5 separate regions of the Homo sapiens genome follow, and all the other regions are linked to region 3. The links are contacts of gene promoters, found by promoter capture Hi-C in human tissues and cell types (Jung and others, 2019). All regions are on one chromosome and are shown on one strand. Each heading gives the region's core, a stretch centred on a gene start or on the middle of the fragment in contact. The rest is flanking DNA. Distances are from core to core; before and after follow the strand shown.

Region 1 (4,240 bases), core at 168-2,667, 160 kb before region 3:
TTAGTCCAAAAAAGTGGGGGTAGGCACAAATATGGAAACAAATCACAGTATGAAACGGTCACTGTAAAGAGGCAGCCCAATGCACTATATTTCCAAGCAGTACCATCTTTGTATCTAGGGGTAACCACATGACTAATTCTAGCCAATGGCACATGAGCAGAAGCGATATGTGTGTGTAAAAGGATTTGCACCAGCAATTCACAAAAAAGAAGTGCAAATGGTTTTAAAACAATTGAAACAACGCCTAATCTCACTTAATATAAATGTTAATTTAAACTACTACAACAAAATGTACTACTTTTCACCACCCACATTGTCAGATATCAAAACATTTGACAATTGTAAGAATAATTACTAGTAATTATAGAACATGTACTATGTGCCCGGCACTGATGCAAATACTTAACACATCTTTAGTGCTCACAGTAACTCCATGAGGTGAATCTCATTATTACCCCCTTTTACAGATGAAGGAACTAAAGTACAGATAATTTAGTAACTTGCCTATGGGCTCATATGATATTGGCAAGTGTGTGGAAAATGGTCATTTTCATGCACTGCAGTGGAAATGCACATTGCAAAAGGCAACTTGGCTATATCTACTGAAATTACAAATGTGTATATTTTCGACCCAGCAATTCTGTTATGAGGACCATACCTTACAGATCTACTTACTGATTGGGCAATGTTCAGTGTACAAGACATTAACTGCAATGTTGTTTTTAGAAGAAAAGCCTTCAAATAAGAACATTGAGAAGAGTTGGGATGGCTACTCAGGGCTGCAGCTGGTATAAAGCTGTCTCTGTTCTATGGCTGGAGGACACAGAGGAGAGCACACAGCAACACCTGCACTGCAGTATCTCCTGCTAATATCATACTTCATAATGAGAAACCACATACTTTCTCCTTAAGATGGAAAACAAAGAAAGGATGTCTTCTCTCATCAGTCCTATTCAGCATGTACTAAAAGTCCTACTTTGTGCAAAAAAAAAAAAAAAAAGTAACAAAATGTATACAGATTGGGAAAGAAGAAATAAAATGGTCTTTGAAAAAAACACCTATAATCAGGAGCTTTTTGTTGATTCCCAAAAAACCAACAAAAAAAATTATTGATTACAGCAAAGTCACAGCATACAAAGTTAATATATAAAAATCAATTACCTTCCTGTACACCAGCAATGAACCAATTGAAATTTAATATTAAAAATGCAATATCACAATACCACCCTAAAAATGAAATACTTAGGTAAATATGTGTATAATCTATTTGCAGAAAACTATAAAACTCTGATGAAAGAAATACAAGATCTAACTAAATGGAGAGATATTCCATGTTCATGGATTGGAAGATTCAATATAGTTAAGATGTCAATTCTTGATAACACCTGACTTGATCTATAGATCCAATACAGTCCCAATCAAAATTCCAGCAACTTATTTGGTATATATTGTCAGACTAATTCTACAGTTTATAGAGAAAGACAAAAGACCCAGAATAGACACCATGATACTAAAGAAGAACAAAGTTGGAAGACTGACACTACCAGAATTCAAAACTTACTATAAATCCACAGTAATCAAGACAGCGTGGTATTGGTTAAAGAACAGACCCATAGATCAATGGAACAAAATAGAGACCCCTAAAATAGATTCACACAAATTTAGTCAACTAATCTTTGAAAAAGGAGCAAAGGCAATTCAATGGAAAAAGGATAATTTTTTCAACAAATTGTTTTGCAACAATTGAACTTCTAAATGGAAAAAACAAAAAAAGTCTAAGCACTGATTATACCTTTTACAACAATTAACCCAAAATGAATGATAGAACTAAATATGAAATGTAATACTTTAAAACATCTAGAAGAAAACATAGGACAAAAATCTATGTGGCCTTGAGTTTGCTAATGAGTTTTTAGACTCACTAAAAGCATAATTCATTGAAAGAAAGAGTTTAAATTAGACTTTATTAAAATTAAAGGCTTTTACTCTAAAAACGACACTGTGAAGAGATCAAAGATAAGCCATAGACTGGAAGGACTTATTTTTAAGCCATATACCTAATATGGGATTTGTATCCAAAATACATTAAAAACTCTTAAAATTCAACAGTAAGAAAACAATCCCATATTTAAAATGGGCAAAAGATCTGAACAGACATCTCACCAAAAAAGATGGCAAATAAACATATGAAAAGGTGTTTAATATTATTTGTCATTAGAGAATTGCAAAGTAAACCAACATGAAATGACACTGCGTGCCTATTAGAGTGGCTAAAATAGAAAATATTGACAATATTAAGTGCTAGTAAGGTTGTAGAGCAACATGAACTCTCATTCATTGTTGGTGGAAATACAAAATAGTACCACCCCTTTAGAAGAGAGTTTTGCAGGTTTTTCTGTAGAGCTAAACATAGTCTTATTATACAATACAACAGTCACAATCCTAGGCATTCATCCAACTGATTTGAAAACTTATGTCCACATAAAAGCCTGTATGTGAATGTTTACAGCAGCTTTACTCATAATCACTGAAAACTGAAAGCAACCCAAATGTCCTTCAATAGGTAAATAGATAAACTGTGGTACATCAATACAATAGCAATAAACAGGAATAAACAAGCCAAGCAAAACATGTATGGATTAAAAGCACATTGTTAAGCTTATAAAGCCAATTTTAAAAGCCTACATAATATATGATTCCATTTATATGACATTCTGGAAAAGGCAAAACTATAGAGATGGTAAACAGGTCTGTGGTTACCAGGGTTCAGATGAGAGGAAGGATTTGAATAGGTGGAGCTCAGGGAATTATTTTGGGAGTGACTATTATGTATGATGCTGTAATGACAGATAAATAGAACTTGATACAAAGAGTGAACATTAATATACACAAATTAAAAGAAAATTACTTAAGAGGTTGGGAGATCCCATGATGAAATGCAGACTATGAGGAAAAAAAGTCTAATTGTATTACAAATGTGTGAAATACCCTTATTGAAGGGTGCGTTTGGGCAGGGGGAGATGCTGACCTAAGTAACCTTGGAAATGAGTGGAGACTGTAAGACTAAAGGCAAAAGGGATTCTATATAAGCATGGTACTGTAGTCGATAAAGTTGTTTCCCAAGGGGTTATGGGTTCACAATTCTGATACTGGTTGACATGTATACTGGTACTGAACCATTAAGTAATTAGAGGGTGGATATTGGGAGTCAGATTTCTTCCTGTTAGTGTAGGAGATTGCTGACATATAAAGGAGGAAGAATAGAATGATTCATGTGGTGTTAAAGTTGGCAAAATGAGCAAAAAGCCACATTAAGTCAAAGGGACACAGGAGCCAACTGAAGGGCTCCCAATGGCTGGAATATTTTTAGCTTCTTTTTTAAAATTAAACTCTTTGTTTTGAGAAAACGGTAGGTTCAGATGCAGTTCTAAGAAATAAGGCAGAGTGATCCCATGGGTCCTTTGTCTGTTTCCCCCAGTGTAACATCTTACAAAACTATAGTACAACAGTACAATCAGCATATTGACATTGACACAGTCAAGATACGGAACATTTTTATCACAAGTGTCTTTCATGTTGCCCTTTTATAGCCACGTCTATTTCCCTCCTACTCCCATTCTCTCCTTAATTCCCAGCTACCTACTAATTTGTTCTCCACTTCTATAATTTTGTCATTTCAAGAATGCTGTATAAATGGAGTAATATAGTATGTAAACTTCTGAGGTTGGCTTTTTATCGCTCAGCATAACTGTCTGGATATTAATCCAGGTTGCTGGATGTATCAGTTGCCATCCCTTTTTATCACTGAGTAGTATTACATGGTATGGATGCACTACAGCTTGTTTAATCCTCATCATTGAAGGACATCTGAGTTGTTTTCAGTTTGGAGTTGCTATAACCATTTATGTACAGGTTTTCATGTAAACCAAAGTCTTCATTTCTCCGGGATAAATGCCCAGAATTGAAATTGCTGGGTTATATGACAGCTGCATGTTTAGTTTTTAAATAAATTGTCAAGTTATTTCCCACAGCAGCTGTATTATTTTATATTCCCACCAGCAAAATATGAGTCATCCAGTTCTCTGCATCCTCAAGCTAGAACAATTTGAGCAACAAATTCACCCCAAACTGTAACCAGAGAGTCCAAGAGCTGATTGTGGTAGTCGATACTGGTGGGCCTCCCAGAGCAAAGAGCAAGGTGGAAAAGGATAGTAGGTATCCAAGTAGCACACAAAAAATA
Region 2 (4,180 bases), core at 1,654-4,153, 160 kb after region 3:
TAACAGTTTTGCTCCCTCTGACGGGATCTGTGGCAGATCTATGTGCACAGGCTTCCTCTTATCCTGCTTAGCTTTGCCAGAAGTTTGTCTACATTGGGTTTTGTTTCCCCCTCAAGAGATCAGCTTTTAGATTTACCACTTCTATTTGTGTCACATTTTCTGTATCTTTATTAATTCGTTCCCCCTGCTTTTACTAGGTTCATTTTTTTGTCCTGTTTTCTTAGTTACTGAAATTCTTCATGTGCTGTATCTGCTTTAAAGGTTGTGAATTTTCTTGAGAACACCTCTGGCTACTAAGTGTGACTGGTGCTGTTCTTGCCATCATTTCCTAAACTATCAGTAATTAATTGCAAAGTTTCAATTTCCTCTCTGAGAGTGATTTTTAACACTTTTTTTTTTAAGCTTGTAAGTGCTTTGTGGGTTTTGTTCATCCTTTTGTTACTGGTTTCAAATTTTACTGTACTATACCTACAATTTATCCATTTTGGCATTAATTACATTTCGCTGAAAGACTATTCTCACATGCCATCTTCCCATCTCTGCTGGTGTGAAGAATGTTTTGACCAACCTTTGGTGAAATGAGAATAGTAAGAACAATTTTGGGCTGGGCACGGTGGCTCATGCCTGTAATCCCAGCATTTCGGGAGGCCAAGGTGGGCAGATCACCTGAAGTCAGGAGTTTGAGACCAGCCTGGCCAACATGGTGAAACCGTCTCTACTAAAAATACAAAAACTAGCCGGGTGTGGTGGTGGGTGCTTGTAATCCCAGCTACTCGGGAGGCTGAGGCAGGAGAATTGCTTAAACTCGGGAGGTGGAGGTTGCAGTGAGCCAAGATCGCACCACTGCACTCCAGCCTGGGCAACAGAGCGAGACTCCATTGCAAAAAAAGAACAATTTTGGGAAAGCATGATGATGGGTATTCATGCTCATGTGTGAGATGTGTCTCCTTCAAACCTTGTTTAAAGAAAAAAAAAAACTTGATATTTTCACACACCTTAATTTAATTTGTAAAGTGTAGATAACAATTCTGCTATGGTTCCCTTTTATTTGTACGTCATGTTCTAATACACAGAACAGGATTGAGTATGATGGGTTCGGGCCCATGTCCACCACCTGGGTTTTGAAACCCACGGTGGCCACTTAATTCACTGTATGACTCTGGGCAAATCACATTACGTCGTGGTGCTCAGTGTCCTCTGCTGTTAAATGGGATAACACTAGGATGTGCCTTATCTGATACTATATACAAGTGTTATATAAAGGACTGATGCATAGTAAAAGATCAATAAATACCACCTGTTATTAAATAACTGCAGACTATTTCACAAAACAGAGCAAATGAAAAATTCTCTTATGTGATGACTTATTTTGTTTTAGGAGTTGTACTGGCTGGTTAAATTCCAGAGTAATGGAACCATATACCTACACATAATCAACTCTTAAACATGCTCTGCAGACACATAGAGAATGTGGGCTCTGTGTTACAAAGAGTTCTGTGACTCTAATCATCAGTAATATTATCAAACTCCCCTGTGACTTCATTAACACAAAATGTTAACTTTACTTAAAGGGCAAGGGACATCTTTAATGGATGTGACATTCTGTACAAAAGGACAGGCACTGACTAGCAGGACCCTGGCAGAAACTATGTCCCTCCCCCAACCACCCACCCGTCAGGAGTGCAGAGCTCAGTGTGGCCTGGGGAGAAGAGTCACATCATCAATGGCAACAGACCTTTCCCACGACTTCTCTGGAAATACTCCAGATTCCTGCCACTCTGGAATATTTTTGAGTCTCATGATATAAAAATTTGGCTTCTCAGTATGTCAACTCATGAACATGAGACTTGGCAAGACCTCAAAAGTCAAAAACAAATGGCGCCACTACCTTACCCCACTACCAAAGCTTAAAAACTTACAATCCACCCTCTTCATATTGCTGCTAAGTCTGTCTTTGTAATACGTCAACTATATGTCACTTCCCAAACTCTGGGTCAAAAACCCTTCAACTATTCCCCAGCACGAAGCAAATAAAGTTGAAACTGTCAGACCATTCTTATTATTGAAAAACATTATCTCCTGAAGTCTGTGTGAATGTTCCTAAAGGCTGCCCCGCAGTGGTGGGATGAGGGGAGATGTTTCCACTTACAGCATGGCAATGCCCCAGTGCTTCCCGGCTCTCTCCCCCGCTGCCTGGAAACCAGAGAGGCCAATTAGGGCCACCGTGGGTGTAATGGTCAAGGGACCGATGTACTTCAGTAGAGCCCCAGGCAGGCCGAGGAGGCCGATGACTACTTCTATCAGTGAGGACATGATGATGGCCCCCTGGATCTGCAACAAGAGATGGCACAGACATGAGAGTGAGCTGCTTGTACACTGCACACTCAGAATGTCACCTACAACCACAACTGATAATTCTGCAAGGCAATAAGTTATTACATCATCTAACTTGGGAGAGATAGCTAGAAAATTCCCCAGGACCCGACAAGAAACTTCAGGGGGCACTAACTGGGGCCTGCATTCATGATGCAGGTGTATTACAGAAATAGGTCCTGGACACACGGCCCACATGCCTTTTTCACTGTTAAACGATGCAGGCAAAAATTTATAATTCCCTTTTAAGAAACACAACATTTAAAGACCAGCCTTAGAGGAACACTGCAGCATAAAGACTCTCAGCTTTAAAGAGTGAGCCCCCCAGGACATCGACAAGACAATGTTGTTGACAGAAATTCTAAAGGGATGTTTTTAGTGTGCAGAATGGCCACATCTGTGCTCATTCTGAACTGATGGTGAATTATCTCACACGTTTTGGAAAATATTAATACACTGTCAGCCGTACTTCATGTCTGCTTCTGTTCAATTGCACTTTGGCAGACAAATATCTTTAGTTCTTTCAATGAACACAGGCAAACACTGAGGCCAGAGCGAACAATTCTGCTATCTGTCGATGATGAGCCTCTGTAGCTCCATCCAGTGAGCCACGAACCTCAGCTAGCTGTGCTGGCGGGTGTGAGTGGACAGGTCTGTGGGTGTGCAGGAGGGAGGAAACCATTCCTTAAGGTTGCCCAGAGCATTTCCATATGCTTTATTTTAGAGTATTGCTTAACTACATTTACTTAAACAAGAGAAATAAACTATCAGTAATTGAAAAAGAAAAGAAGGGCTCAGTAAAAGTAACTGCTATTTCTTGGGTCAACCAACATTGAAGCTGAGAAGAAACATGAAGAAGCCAAAAGCAGACAACGCTTGTCTTTTACCTCTCGGATCCGGGGATACCAGATGTGTTCTGTGTGCAACAGCTCTGCTGTTCCATTGGCAACTGAAACATCTTGAAAACAAAAACAAAGTTTTTCTTGGAGTGACACTGATGTCTCACATGACATATTCATTTTACCTTTTAAGAAGAATTTTCTCCCTGTTTTTATTACATCTGTTTCAATCCCCATCCCTAAAATTCAACCTCCAACAGTATAGCTTATCTCACTGAAAGGTGGATCCTCAAATGCTAATTTAACCAAATGAATTCATCGACTAAGAGCTCCCCAAATTGTCAAAAGCTAACTGAAGTGGTGATACACGTTACTAGCACCAGCCTCACACAAAAAAACCAACCTTTGCACACAGCTCATTGAAATGCCCGACAGCAAGGTTGCTGGACTGAGGTTTGAAAAACTTAGATAAAACAGAGGGCCTTTTCCAGTTCCCAGATCAAATCAGTGGTCACAAAGTAACTCCTAGGAGCAAGGAAGGAAATGAAGGCTGGAAAACTTTGCTCCTAGAAGGTCAAAATGTAATTGTATTTTTGAGAGTACAGGTCTGACTCTAATTTTCTTAAATTCCCTATCTTTTCCTGACCTTATCGGGTTCCTTAAGGATCTTTGCAATCACTAAAGAAGGGGAATGAAAGTCATTTGCAGCAAACCACAGTAGCCAGATCCTTAAAAAGCAAAGATGTTTCAGAGAAGGGATGCTGACGCAGCAAAGAGAGTGATTACTGGTGGGTCATAAAATCCACTGAAAGAGAGAGGCAGAAAAATAGCACAAATATTTTTCTATTCCGTTCCCATATTTGTCAATTTCATTAACATAGAGAAATGAGGTCAATTCTGATCCTTTCTTGCTCTAGGGTTAGGGATGAACAAGTGGACAGAAAGAGAGAGACAGACACGATCCACAG
Region 3 (4,036 bases), core at 308-2,807:
GGGGTTGGAGATGATTGTGTCTAGTGGGAACAGGCAGGGGGATAGTGCACAGAGTTCACAATGGGACAACGAGCCTGCCGAGGCTGCACTGCCGGCCTGGCTGGGTGACCTTGAGCCTATCTGGGCCTGTGAGCTCACCATGCAAAGGAGCTGGACCACAGAATTCTGAGTCCTTTCTAGCTCTAAACACTGTGGCCCTAAGTATCTATATGTGAAACAAAATTGTCCTGACATTTGTCTCTGGGTACTGAACTATTAGGAGATTTTGATTTTTTCATCTCCATTTTGCAAACAGTCTGTACTAAGATTACACTACTGTGTTTCTGTTTTGTGTGTATTCAGAAGCACAAAAAGTCTGTGGTTCTAGAAAGGAAATAGAAAAGTTCTTAAAAAAAAAAAAGTGGGGAAGTGAAACAAATGTTAAAGTCAGAGGAGAAAGAAAGGCCCAACCGGAGGCCCCAAATCCACCCAGAGCCCAGAAGCCCGGGTTTCCCACCGACCGGCTGCGGTCTTTGTCAGCTCTCTGGCGCTATCTGCTGTCCTTCTCGATAACAACCGTTTAATTTGGTTTGCAAAATTGCTCTGACGCAAATCCACCGTGAACACTGACGGGGTCACATTCAGCATAAAAATCGCATTCTGTTTACAGGAAAATCTGGCCCCATACTTGCTCCCATATTCACTTTTGACTTTGCCTTGCAGTACTAACTGTAACAGGGACACCTGAGCAAGTCCCTTCTGTATAAGGCCCAAAATGGTCACCCAATACCAATGAGTCTCTTGCTTTGGAAAGCCCAGGAATGCACCTCCAGCCCCTTCTGCGCAGCGCTCGGACACCATGTAGAGGAGAAGGCACTCTGCAGAACTCGCCCTCAGCCCGCACCACCTGTCCAGGGGACTGGCTGCGTGTCAATGTGTCTCTGCTCCCGGGGTTCCCGCAGATCTTTAACTTATTGGCCTTTGGGCTAATTCAGTCCTTCAAGCATTCCTCGCCCAACATGCCAGGAAGTCTTCTCACGTGTCTTCCACCCCATACCTACCAGTTCTGTTTTCCCACTACCCGATGAAAGTGTAACCGCCCCCCGGCGCCCCCCCCCCCCACCACCACACACACACCCTGTTGGTCCCATCCTCAGGGCGTGGTGGTCCAGGTGAACGCTTGCCCTCTTTTTGAGCTGAACCTCCCCACAGAGGCTGTCAGCAAAGACTGCTTTGCTGTCCAAGGCCGGCCTTTAGGTACAGGACACTATGCATGTCCAGCGAGGCTTGTTGAAGCCACATCTGTCATAGATATTGATGGGAAAAGCATTTTCCTTCTAACACATCTCATTCCAATTCTAAAAGGCACCTCTGAAGCCTTGCTGAACTTCATCAAGATTTTCACGTGGTTTCCTTAGTAAAGTGTGATGAGAAGGTCCATCCTTCTCAGGATGAAGGAGTGGTCCAGGAAGCCCTGATTGGTCTGCCGGGGAGGGAAGGGCTGCCTTATTTGGAGACCTGCAGGAATGCCACCTCCCCCGGCAGCTCCTATATAGCTGGGCGGACCTGGCTGCCAAGAGGGTGTGCTGGGGGACTGTGCAGCTCGAGGCTCCAGAGGCACACTCCAGAGAGAGCCAAGGTACGTGGGGGGCCACTTCTGTGGTCAGGACTGCTGGTTTCTTATCAAGGCTCGATCCCAGATTGAAAATCATGCAATGATTTCTTTACTCCCACACCTGGGGATGGGTCCCAAGTTCAGGGTAGACTTGCGAGGATACCCAGTCATCACTGGGCTTGCCTTTCTCTAAGTTGGTGCTATAATAAAATGCTACTTTAGGGTTTGTGGGTTGGGATTTTGTTTTGCCTTTAAGCTTCTGCCTATGAAAACTAATCTCTTTCTCAAGAATGCTGTGCTTTTATTTTTTTTATTTGACTCACCTGAAATGATCTATTATGCCATTAATCTTATTTAAGATTTCTCCTTAAAAAAGGAATGATGTGGAGTATGGCCCTATTTAGGAGACTAATGAATATTTGCTTCATGCTTGGATCTCTTTGGAGAAAGTCAGTCTGAGTTCACTGTGCTCAGGAGGCAGAGAGAGTGGGGTGAGGGGGTCCAGATGCTCATAGCCACCCTGGGACAAAGACGAGGCGATGTCTACAAGCAAGGAAAGGTCAGTGAGGCCTCTTTGCAGGCTTCTAGAGATGACTGGATGTGCTTCTAGAGATCACTTCAGCTGTGTTTTGCCTTTTTTTTTTAATATAAGGAGCAATGTGGCATCAGAGTTGAACATTTTATCAGAGGAACATTAGCCACTTTTAGGGAAGCTGCAGCAGGGTGGTGGAGGGTGTGTGAGGGGCGAAACAAGCTCCCTGTCAGCCTCCTCCAGCTCTGGGGCCCCATGGCCTCACAGTAAGTCTTTGCCTAGGAGACAGCTTAGGCAAGCTCCGGTATGGGAACTCCTTCCATTTCCCTAATCCACACAGGCAAAGACCCAGGTGCTAGAATGCCCTGACAGTCGGCCTTGGGAAGTGGATTTCCTTGATGGCTATTGTAGATTCAGGAGCCGAATGTGACAGGCAACCTTAAGGTGTGGGGTGAGGGGCTTTTCCATGACATCAGTGGCAGCCCTTCGGATGTCCCAGGGCCACCTTGACCCGGGACCCTCCTGGTGTTCCCCCAGGCCCTCCTGTCTTCCCTTTCATCTCGTTTTCTCCGAAATTCCTCAAGGGCCCTGCCCTTTGCCCTTTGCCCAGCTCAGGGGGCATCATACCCAGTGAGTGAAAAGCACAGTGTGTGAGCACTGTCTTCTCCTGAAACCCAGATGGGCAGTGGGGCATGGCTAGTGGACACATGCAGTGCAGCATTAGACAGAGCCCAGTGCAGGTCTGCCACCTCCCCGCTGTGCAGCCTTGGGCAAATTACTTAACTTCTCTGAATCCCAGGACAACATTTATAACATGGGGATAATAATGTACCTACTCTATGTGAGAATTAAGTTAGGCAATGTCAGAGAAGAGCTTAACACGGTGGCAGGCATGAAGAAAGTATGCAATAAAAAGCCAGTAGGATAAGCAGATGGTCACACTGTCCCCCAGGGGTGAGATTGGAAAGGATGCCTGGAGCACACTTGACCCCTGGACATAGGGGAGGCAGGGGTCCCTTTGCTACGTTTCCATCTTTCCCTTCCTTCCTCCTCCTCTCTCTCTCATTACTGCAAAGCCCTTTAGGATCAGCAGCCAGTGAATTCCTCAGAATGGATGGCAGAATGCCCCCAAGACAGTGCCAGCTCAGAGCAATAAAGAACAAAGAGGGGAGATTGAAAGTACAATCTAAAGTCGGCACAGTGGCTCGTGCCTGTAATCTCAGCACTTTGGGAGGCTGAGGTGGGAGGATCACTTGAGCCTGGGCAACATAGTGAGACCCCGTTTCTACAACATGTATTTAAAAATTAGCTGGGTGTGGTAGTGTGTGCCTGTAGTCCCAGCTACTCCGGAGGCTGAGGCAAGAGGATTGCTTGAGCCCAGGAGTTCAGGGCTGCAATGAGCTATGATCATGCCACTGCACTCCAGCCTGGGCAACAGAGTGAGATCCTGTCTCTAAAATATGTGTGTGTGTGTGTGTGTGTGTGTGTGTGTGTGTGTATGTGTGTGTGTCTGTACATATACGTATATATATATGTGTGTATATATACATATATGTGTGTATATATGTATATATGTGTGTGTATATACGTGTATATATACATATATATGTGTATATATATACGTGTATACACACACACACACACACACACATATAGTCCATGCCCACCAGCATTTGATTCCAACTCTTCTATTGTATTTTCCTCCCAGGGATTTCTTGATTTGAAAGACTTGGGAGTATCAAAGAAAACCTACATGTATTAAGTCACCACTCCTTTATTTTCCCATGCGTATTCAAAGCCACTATAATTGCCCTTTGCCATTCTTACCTGTCTCGGAAACCGGGACCAGAGCCCTGAGTGAATGTAATCCTAGCAATAGCAAAGGAGCTCGGTGTTTGAGTTAACCCTGC
Region 4 (4,349 bases), core at 1,031-3,530, 180 kb before region 3:
GGCTCATGACTGTAATCCCAGCACTTTGGGAGGCAGAGGCAGGTGGATCACTTGAGGTCAGGAGTTCGAGACCAGCCTGGCCAACATGATGAAACCCCGTCTCTACTAAAAATACAAAAATTAGCCAGGTGTGGTGGCACACTCCTGTAATCCCAGCTACTAGGGAGGCTGAGGCGGGAGAATCACTTGAACATGGGAGGCAGAGGCTGCCATGGGCTGAGATCGTGCCACTGCACTCCCACCTGGGCGACAGAGGGAAACTCAGTCTCAAAAAAAAAAAAAAAAAAGGCCAGGCATGGTGGCTCATGCCTGTAATCCCGGCGATTTGGGAGGCTGAGGTGGTTGGATCATTTGAGGTCACGAGTTTGAGACCAGCCTGGCCAACATGGTGAAACCCCATCTCTACTAAAAATATGAAAATTAGCTGGGCATGGTGGTGCACACCTGTAGTCGCAGCTACTCAGGAGGCTGAGGCAGGAGAATCACTGGAACCCGGGAGGCAGAGGTTGCAATGAGCCAAGATCGGGCCACTGCACTCCAGTCTGGGCAGCAGAGCCAGACTCCATCTCAAAAAACAAACAAAACAAAAAACAAAAAAACCCATGTTTGCAAAGAGATATCTGTACTCCCATGTTCATTGCACATTATTCACAATAGCCAAGATATGGAAACAACTTAAATGTCCTTTGATGGATGAATGCATAAAGAAAATATGGTGTATGTGTACAACAGAATATTATTCAGCCTTAAAAAGGAAGGAAACCCTGCCAATTGTGACAATAAGAATGGAGCTGGAAGGCATTATGCTAAGTGAAATAAGCAAGACACAGAAACAGAAATACTACATGATCTCTCTTATAGATGGAATCTGAAACAGTCAAACTTACAGAAGTGGAGAGCAGAATTGTGGTTGCCAAGGACTGTGGGGGAAGGGGAATGAAGTGATGTTGGTCAAAGGGTACAGAGTTTCTTTTATGCAAAATGAGTTATTTCTAGAGATCTTAGGCTCTGCTTCTGGGGCAATCCAAACTAAGACAGGTATTAAATACAAATTTAAAAGGTTTATCTTTAAAGTCTTGCAATTGAATTGGGAAGATATTTACAATTTTACACAATATTAGGACTCTTAAATCAGCCATATCTTAAAGTGTTTAATTAAGTTTTACCCTCTCATTAGCCATTGACAATAAATCAGTGTAGATTGGTACATCATGGGCCATTTAACATTCCTTGGCATTTATTTGCAACAGCTCATTATTATCCAAAAGTCAGCTGCTGCCAAATTTCCTCTCCAATAGGCAAAGAAATTCCCAGTTGGAAGGTGAGCTGACTACCAACTCAGGCTGCCTGCTTATTGGGTTTCATGCATCCCTCTCCTCCCGCCCTTCCTCAACTGGGCAATCTACAGGACCTCCAAAGTGCCTTCTCCTTGGGGAAGGATGTATATTTCTCCTAAGAGTGGTTCAGAAAGATTAATGCTAAAGAAACTTCCCCAGTTTCTCCCTCTTTATCGATTTCCATCTTCTAAAGATTTCAGCACTTTGAAGCTTAATCAATTTGTATCACAGTTAGTTCCATGTCCATGTTTTGGTCTTTTAGTTCTTTAACGAATTCCTCTCCTTTTGAACATGAAAGAGGCAGATACTTAGCTTTAAGTTTCCATCTGCCTTCAAGTCCCATTTTGTTCAGAGAAATTAATATAATCTGGGGAAAATAAACCTAAAATTATTTGGAAATAGGACTCATGTAATTTCTTATACAGGCAATTTTTTGCTTTGACATCCAGGGAACTTTGAATGTTTGCCTGAGTTCAGCTTGTTTGGAGGTAAGGCATCTAAACTGACCCTAATTTAAGCAAAAGAGGGGTTTATTGAAAATATGCTTGGTAGTTTATAGAACTAAAGAGCTTAATAAACCAGTCTCTGGAAGTATGTAGTCAGGAAAGATTCAGGGATCTCACAGACAGAAATTCCCAGACTTCATCATTACACTGTTACCTTCATACAACTCCAGAACCAACCATCTTACCTCCCTGTGCATTCCCACTCAGATGCTCCCAAGAGAAGGAATTTGGCCTAGTTTGGGCATGTGCTCAACACCTGTGGTCAGTAGAGCAGGAGTGTGGGTTATCCTCTGATGAGTTTCTCTACCAGAAGAGAATATTGGTGGCAGGGCATGAAGGAAAGGGAGGGGGGCCTGCAATTCTCCCAAAGAAAGAGATGCTGGGCAGATGGAAGCCATAGATATCCACTACATTTATTCCTCAGCTATCCATTTGTCCATATCTCCATTCACAGAATTTTACAAATGCTGCCATCTAACATTACAAAATCATACCACGTAAACCTTCAACTGTACTCCTTCCTGAAAGTCTCAGCCAGCTATTGCACCTAGAATCAAGGCCTCCAGGCCCCTGTTCTCCCAGGATAGAATCTCTAAGTGCATCTCATATCTCTTTACCATGTACTATTTCAGTACATGCTGGCCCTGACTTCCAACTGCCAGCACTCTTTGCCTGTAGGCTCTCTCTGGCCACTGGAGACTTCTTTGACCATTTTTGGGGTAGGGAAGGAAATGTCTAAAAGTTATCACCACTTTGGGAGCAGCCCTCAACCAATGACTAAAGGAACTAATAGACAAATATATGTTTTTCCTCACCCTTTCTGGAACTATTGGAAGAACTCTTAGGTGTATATTCTACAGTTTTCCAGAGTGCTTAATCCTTTGGGATTATGCTCCAGTTGCTCACACTGATAATATGCACAGTAGTGTATCCTTTATTGCCTGCACTTTCTCTTCCTCAATCTCATGTTCCCACTGTCCTACTGATACTTCCTAGAGTCACCTCTTAAATGGCATGAACCCAAATTCTTGCCTCAGTGTTTGCTTCTATGTTATTGGGTATTTTTTATTCATCCTCTAGGTCTGCCATAATACCATCTCACAATTTTGTAACCTATGGACTAAAAGATAGATTTCACCATGACTAACTGGTCTTTATGCAGCTGGTCACTATGCCGTAGCTATTATGTGTGAATCCTGCCCATTTGATGTTGTTTTGCCCTTATTCAGTCTTTCAGTCAGTAGGATTCCTTCCAAGTGGAGTAACCAATGTTTCACTCCTGAAAGCCTCTAATTCCTCAGAAGTCCTTCTTTTGCTTTTTCTGTGTCTTTAACAGGACATTCCACCATTTTATGAGGTCAGCTACTTCTGGGTTATAGGGAACATAATGTGATAAGACCAGTGTATCCCATCAGCTCATTGTCTTCCATTTTGCACACTGAGGTGAGTCCCTATTTAGGATAAGTGTAGTATGGAATAGAAGCCATAATAGTGAACAAGGCTCTCAGTACATCCGTGTGTAAGAACAGAAAACTCAGCTCCCAGACGTGTTTATTAATAGTTTGATAAGAAAAATAATGACTGCATGTTCTGTGATGAAAAGGGTCCAGTGGAATTACTGGCTACCAGGTATTCAGTATGGCTTCATGTAAGGGTCTTGAGGATAATTGTTTTGCTGCCACATTGGGGTGTCAGCAGTGGTGGCAAGGGAAAGTTTATTTCGCTATAGCTTCCCTGGTCATGGGCAATGTGAGCAACACCACAGGTGGCTGGGGCAGGTGGATGACTGACATCCAGAGGAGATAAGACCATCCTTGTTTGGTTATTAAAGTATTCTTCTGAAGTGAGGGATTTCTAGTACTATGTATGCAGGATAGAAATATGCTCATATTTTGGACCCACATATGTTTCCTGAACTTCCTTATAGTTCATGTTTGAATCATTCTCTGAGTTCCTAACCTTCACCCAAAAAATTAGCTACTGCCCAACTGTCTGTGTAAATCCTTACAATTGTTTGTCTCTATGTCCAGGACAAGTGGGAAATAATATATACTGTAATCATTAAAGTTCTGCCCACAGAAAAATTTCCCATTTTTTATTATGCTTCAAAGCTACATCTGAGTAGGGCTCTAATACCACTGTAATCCATGGTATATTGTACATAGTCACCTGCATAGTCACCTGTACACAAAGCTCTAATTTTTTCCTCATTAGTTAGCCAATCATAAGGAGCTCCTCATGTGTCCAGGTGCAGATTAAGGGAGGGGAGCAGAGAGACAGGAATAGGGGTTCTGAGCGGGTTTGCAACCCACAACTTCTGAAACTAACCTGCACGTTCAGGACCTGTTGAGGCTTGATCTGGCATGTATCTCTTCCCCTTGATGACAGAGCACGCTGAAGATGCCTCCCTTTATGATGGATTGAATAAAATTGCATCCAGATATAATGGACTGCTCGGAACTCATGGCCACATGATCTTTCAGATGTTTAATCTCAAACACAGCAC
Region 5 (3,888 bases), core at 457-2,956, 190 kb after region 3:
TTATTAAAATTTTATTTTAAAAAAAACAAACTTAGAGGGAAACTTAAAAAACTGAACCAGGTATTGACCAAGGTATGGGGGAGAGTTACTCTCCTGTGTTCTTGGAGAGAACATGCTCTTGGTGGAATGGCCTTCATGGAGGGAAATTTGGCAATGGGATTTAAAACAGGTATTTCTGTGGATCCAGCAATTATACTCATAGAAGCTTATCCTCTAGAAATATCCATGCAGGTAATATATATATTCAAGGTTGATCACTGCTGTAATTTATGAAATACTGAATACTTGGGGACAACATAAATGTCCATCAAAAAGACACAGTTACATTATTATACACTCATTTAGAGGAGATAATCAGCCATTAAAAATAATAAAGCACTGGACACGGTGGCTCAGGACTGTAATCCTGGCACTTTGGAAGGCTGAGGCAGGCAGATCACCTGAGGTCGGGAGTTCGAGACCAGCTGGCCAACACAGTGAAACCCCGTCTCTACTAAAAATACAAAAATAAGCCAGGCATGGCGTTGCACATCTGTAGTCCCAGCTACTCAGGAGGCTGAGGCAGGAGAACTGCTGGAACATGAAAGGTGGGGGTTGCACTCCAGCCTGGGTGACCGAGCAAGACATCGACTCTAAATAAATACATAAATAAATAAATAGCTAGCTGATGTACTAATTAAAAAAAAACTCCAAGAAATACTGTTTTTAAAAAGTTATAAAACAATAAGCCTAGAATTATCCCAACTGAGCTAAAAAAGAAAATTGTAATGACCCCACCACTTGTCTAAAAAGGACAGAAAAGCATACAGGAAAATCACAACCAGTAGGAAGGGTGCTGCCTTAGGGACAAGAACGGCAATAGCAGACACCTTTCATCTTTTTACTCACAACCCTTTGTAAGTGTTTGGATCTTTTATGATCAGGATGTATTTGTGTTATTTGTATACTGCTTTTTTAAAAATGGATAATTTAAAAAAAAAGACATACTCCAAAATGCTAACAGTGGTTGTCCTTAATTGGTAGGGCCATTTTTGCCAACTTTTTCCCCTTTTTATATTTTGGTCATTTCCTAAAATGAGTAAGTACAATTTATTTTGATAATAGGGAAGAAATTTAAGACTAAAATCCTAGCAGTACAGCTTGGATTGAGGAGGTCCAGAGAGATTCCCAATTCATGTGTTTTTGTAGTCAAGGAAATCAGGGCAGTGAAAAATTAGGTTTCTCATTCAAGGTCATACAGATTATAACCTAGGTCTGAAGTGGGTTTTTAAGTATGCCAGAGAGGCCAGGCGCAGTGGCTCATGCCTGTAATCCCAGCACTTTGGGAGGCCGTGGCAGGCAGATCACCCGAGATCACGAGTTCGAGACCAGCCTGGCCAACATGGCAAAACCCCATCTCTACTAAAAATACAAAAATTAGCTGGGCGTGGTGATGGGCGCCTCTAATCCCAGCTACTTGAGAGGATGAGGCAGGAGAATCGCTTGAATCCAGGAGGTGGAGGTTGCAGTGAGCCGAGATTGTGCCACTGTACTCCACCCTGGTCAACAGAGCGAGACTCCATCTCAACAAATAAAAAATAAAATAAAATAAAAATAAAAACTATGCCAGAGATCTCAATTAATTAGTACATACTCCTACAGAGCAGAATTCTCTTACATTACTTCAAATAAAGACCTGCTTTTAAAATTATTTCTCAAACATGTTATAGTTTTTTACACAAGCCAACTGAGTTTGTGGAGCTGGTTTACCTATAAAAACTGGCTGCTGGGAGGATACACATTCCTGGCCAAGTTCAGGTCCACGAGATGAAACTCTTAACTTACAGAGAGAACTGTGCTCCAAGTCATATCGCAGCAGTGCTCAACCCACTGAGAAGCCAAGAGCAACACGCTCTCAGGATGAACTCTCCTAAAACACGGATCAGTTACTAAATCATTAGAGAAACCTAGATATGATTGAAAGTCTGACTCTAGCCAAACTAACCTTCACCTGCATTTATCTCGGGTTGCTGCAGGGAACAGCAACTTTACCAGTAAGGGGTTTCCTTTGCAGGAGATGAAAATGTTTTGGAACCAAATGGACGAGGCTGTATAACACTGTGAGTGTATTAAAATATCACTGAATTGTTCACTTTAATTTCATGTTATGCAAACTTCACCTCGATACATTAAAAAAAATCATCTGTATACATGGCACTAAGAAGATAGATTTTGAAATGAGTTAGCAATTCCTACTGCTCCCCTGACACATTCCACTCACTACTTATACATACACAAATAAGTATAATGATCCCCAACTTAAATGGTTAAACTTAGGATTTTTTGACTTTACAGTGGTACAAAAGTGATATGTATTCCGTAGAAACTGTCAAGTACCCATACAACCCCTCTGCTCTTCACTTCAGTATTCAAGAAACTGCAAGAGATATTCAACACTTCACCATAAAATAGGCTTTGTGTTAGATGCTTTTGCCTAACTACAGGCTAATGTAAGGGTTCTGAGCACATGTGAGGTAGGCGGGGTTAAGCTATGAATTGCCAGTAGGTTAGGTGTATTAAATGCATTTTAGGGGTGTAACTCTGTCATAAGTCAAGGAACATCTGTATTATAAAATGCAGACACTCCTAAGCCTAGAAAAAAAGCTCACATATTCATTCATTCAACAAATTGTGGTTGTATCCCAGGCAATGAGAATGCAGTCCTGCCTCCCTGCAGGAGCTCAGTCCAGACTGAGTGCCCCGCCAAGGAATTCCGCTGTTACACAGGAGGCAGTCAGTAGCCACAAAGAAATGCCAAGAACAGGAGTGCCACAATCAGATGCTAGCACTGGACAGCCATTCTGGGTGCAGCAGGAGAGTGGATGGGTGGGGTAAAGGAATGACCCTTTGGCACACGAGGAGACAGGAGCTGGGCAAAGGTGTTAACAGTGGTCTGGGAAAGACAGTCAGCTTCAGGAGAGAGCAATGATGTGGACTTAATGCCCCCTGAAGATTGTCTGGATGGGAGCTCTGTGGTGAGTACAGCGGGGAGATGCCATCACAGCACAGCAGGGGGCACGGGAGTAAAGTGTCCAGGCTGGGTTTCTCAGCTGGGAAGCTGGGTGGATGGAGGTGCCAGTCCCAAAGAGACTGGCAGGAGGTAGGGGTGGAATGTTTGTAAGCCAATTCAAAATGTGTTTGACCCACAGAAATCATCCAAAAAAGGAAGGTTTACTTTGCCAGGCTAGTCCAGGAAGTTTATTTAACTGTAAATACTACTGACCTAGAAAACCTATGATTTGCACAGGTCCAGCTGTCTGTCCCTGGGGACCTCAGAGCCCAGCTTCCCCCTGCTACCCTCCTGTTGCCCAGCTGAGATGTAGCTCTCCTCTCCATGCTACCCCCATCCTCTAAGGAAGCCTGTAATAAGACGGGGACACCAGCTGGAAATGCTCTTGTCTGACTGGCTCGTCTCTGATCTATTTACGTGCAGGGGGCTGCCTAAATAGTTCTTGCCTAAATGGTTCTTACAGATGAAGAGTTCTACTGGAAGTACTAGTCTACCTTACCAACATTTTTTCCTTTGGCTTATTAAAATAGATACTCTAATGGCCTATTTTTAATGCAAAATTTAATTTTAAAAATCAAATGGTAAAAATCAGTTCTTGAGGACTGAATTTTTTATGGGAAAAGGATTAAAATGCTGATGATAGTAGCAAAGCTTCATATTTTGGAACTTTTAAATATTATTTTAACTGGGAAATAAAACATGTCTTGGGAAGCTTTCTAAACTTAATAAAGTCTGGTTTTCTTTTGGGTAACTAATAGATAACAGAAGAATCTTGGCATCGTTCACCTCAGGAAATTGATCAAGTTTTTATAAAAATATCAGCAGATTAGTATACCCCT

The links. The method cuts DNA at HindIII sites, captures the fragments that hold promoters and counts their contacts. A contact is called where the count stands out against the background at its distance.
Region 1: a contact is called between a fragment that was not itself captured here and the fragment with the promoter of PRND in region 3, in 3 of the 25 tissues and cell types used here (H1 embryonic stem cells, aorta and mesenchymal stem cells).
Region 2: a contact is called between a fragment that was not itself captured here and the fragment with the promoter of PRND in region 3, in 1 of the 25 tissues and cell types used here (IMR-90 fibroblasts).
Region 4: a fragment that was not itself captured here is called in contact with the fragment with the promoter of PRND in region 3 in 2 of the 25 tissues and cell types used here (aorta and spleen).
Region 5: a fragment that was not itself captured here is called in contact with the fragment with the promoter of PRND in region 3 in 2 of the 25 tissues and cell types used here (dorsolateral prefrontal cortex and pancreas).

The regions. Positions count from the first base shown.
Region 1 is chr20:4,556,849-4,561,088 of GRCh38, forward strand. No RefSeq gene overlaps it. Among named protein-coding and RNA genes, the nearest start is that of PRNP, 130 kb to the right of the region's middle. The HindIII fragment of the contact is 5,419 bases long and covers 1-4,127 here.
Region 2 is chr20:4,881,493-4,885,672 of GRCh38, forward strand. It overlaps SLC23A2 (solute carrier family 23 member 2), which reads right to left. Exons shown (of 17, transcript NM_005116.6): 8 at 3,261-3,331; 9 at 2,150-2,331. Among named protein-coding and RNA genes, the nearest start is that of RASSF2, 60 kb to the left of the region's middle. The HindIII fragment of the contact is 6,046 bases long and covers 1-4,180 here.
Region 3 is chr20:4,720,352-4,724,387 of GRCh38, forward strand. PRND (prion like protein doppel) reads left to right here and starts at 1,558. Exons shown (of 2, transcript NM_012409.4): 1 at 1,558-1,618. RefSeq lists an enhancer at 261-480. The HindIII fragment of the contact is 13,371 bases long and covers 1-3,291 here.
Region 4 is chr20:4,538,304-4,542,652 of GRCh38, forward strand. No RefSeq gene overlaps it. Among named protein-coding and RNA genes, the nearest start is that of PRNP, 150 kb to the right of the region's middle. The HindIII fragment of the contact is 4,645 bases long and covers 1-4,349 here.
Region 5 is chr20:4,914,383-4,918,270 of GRCh38, forward strand. The region is part of intron 3 of SLC23A2 (solute carrier family 23 member 2); the gene reads right to left. Among named protein-coding and RNA genes, the nearest start is that of SLC23A2, 85 kb to the right of the region's middle. The HindIII fragment of the contact is 4,047 bases long and covers 1-3,730 here.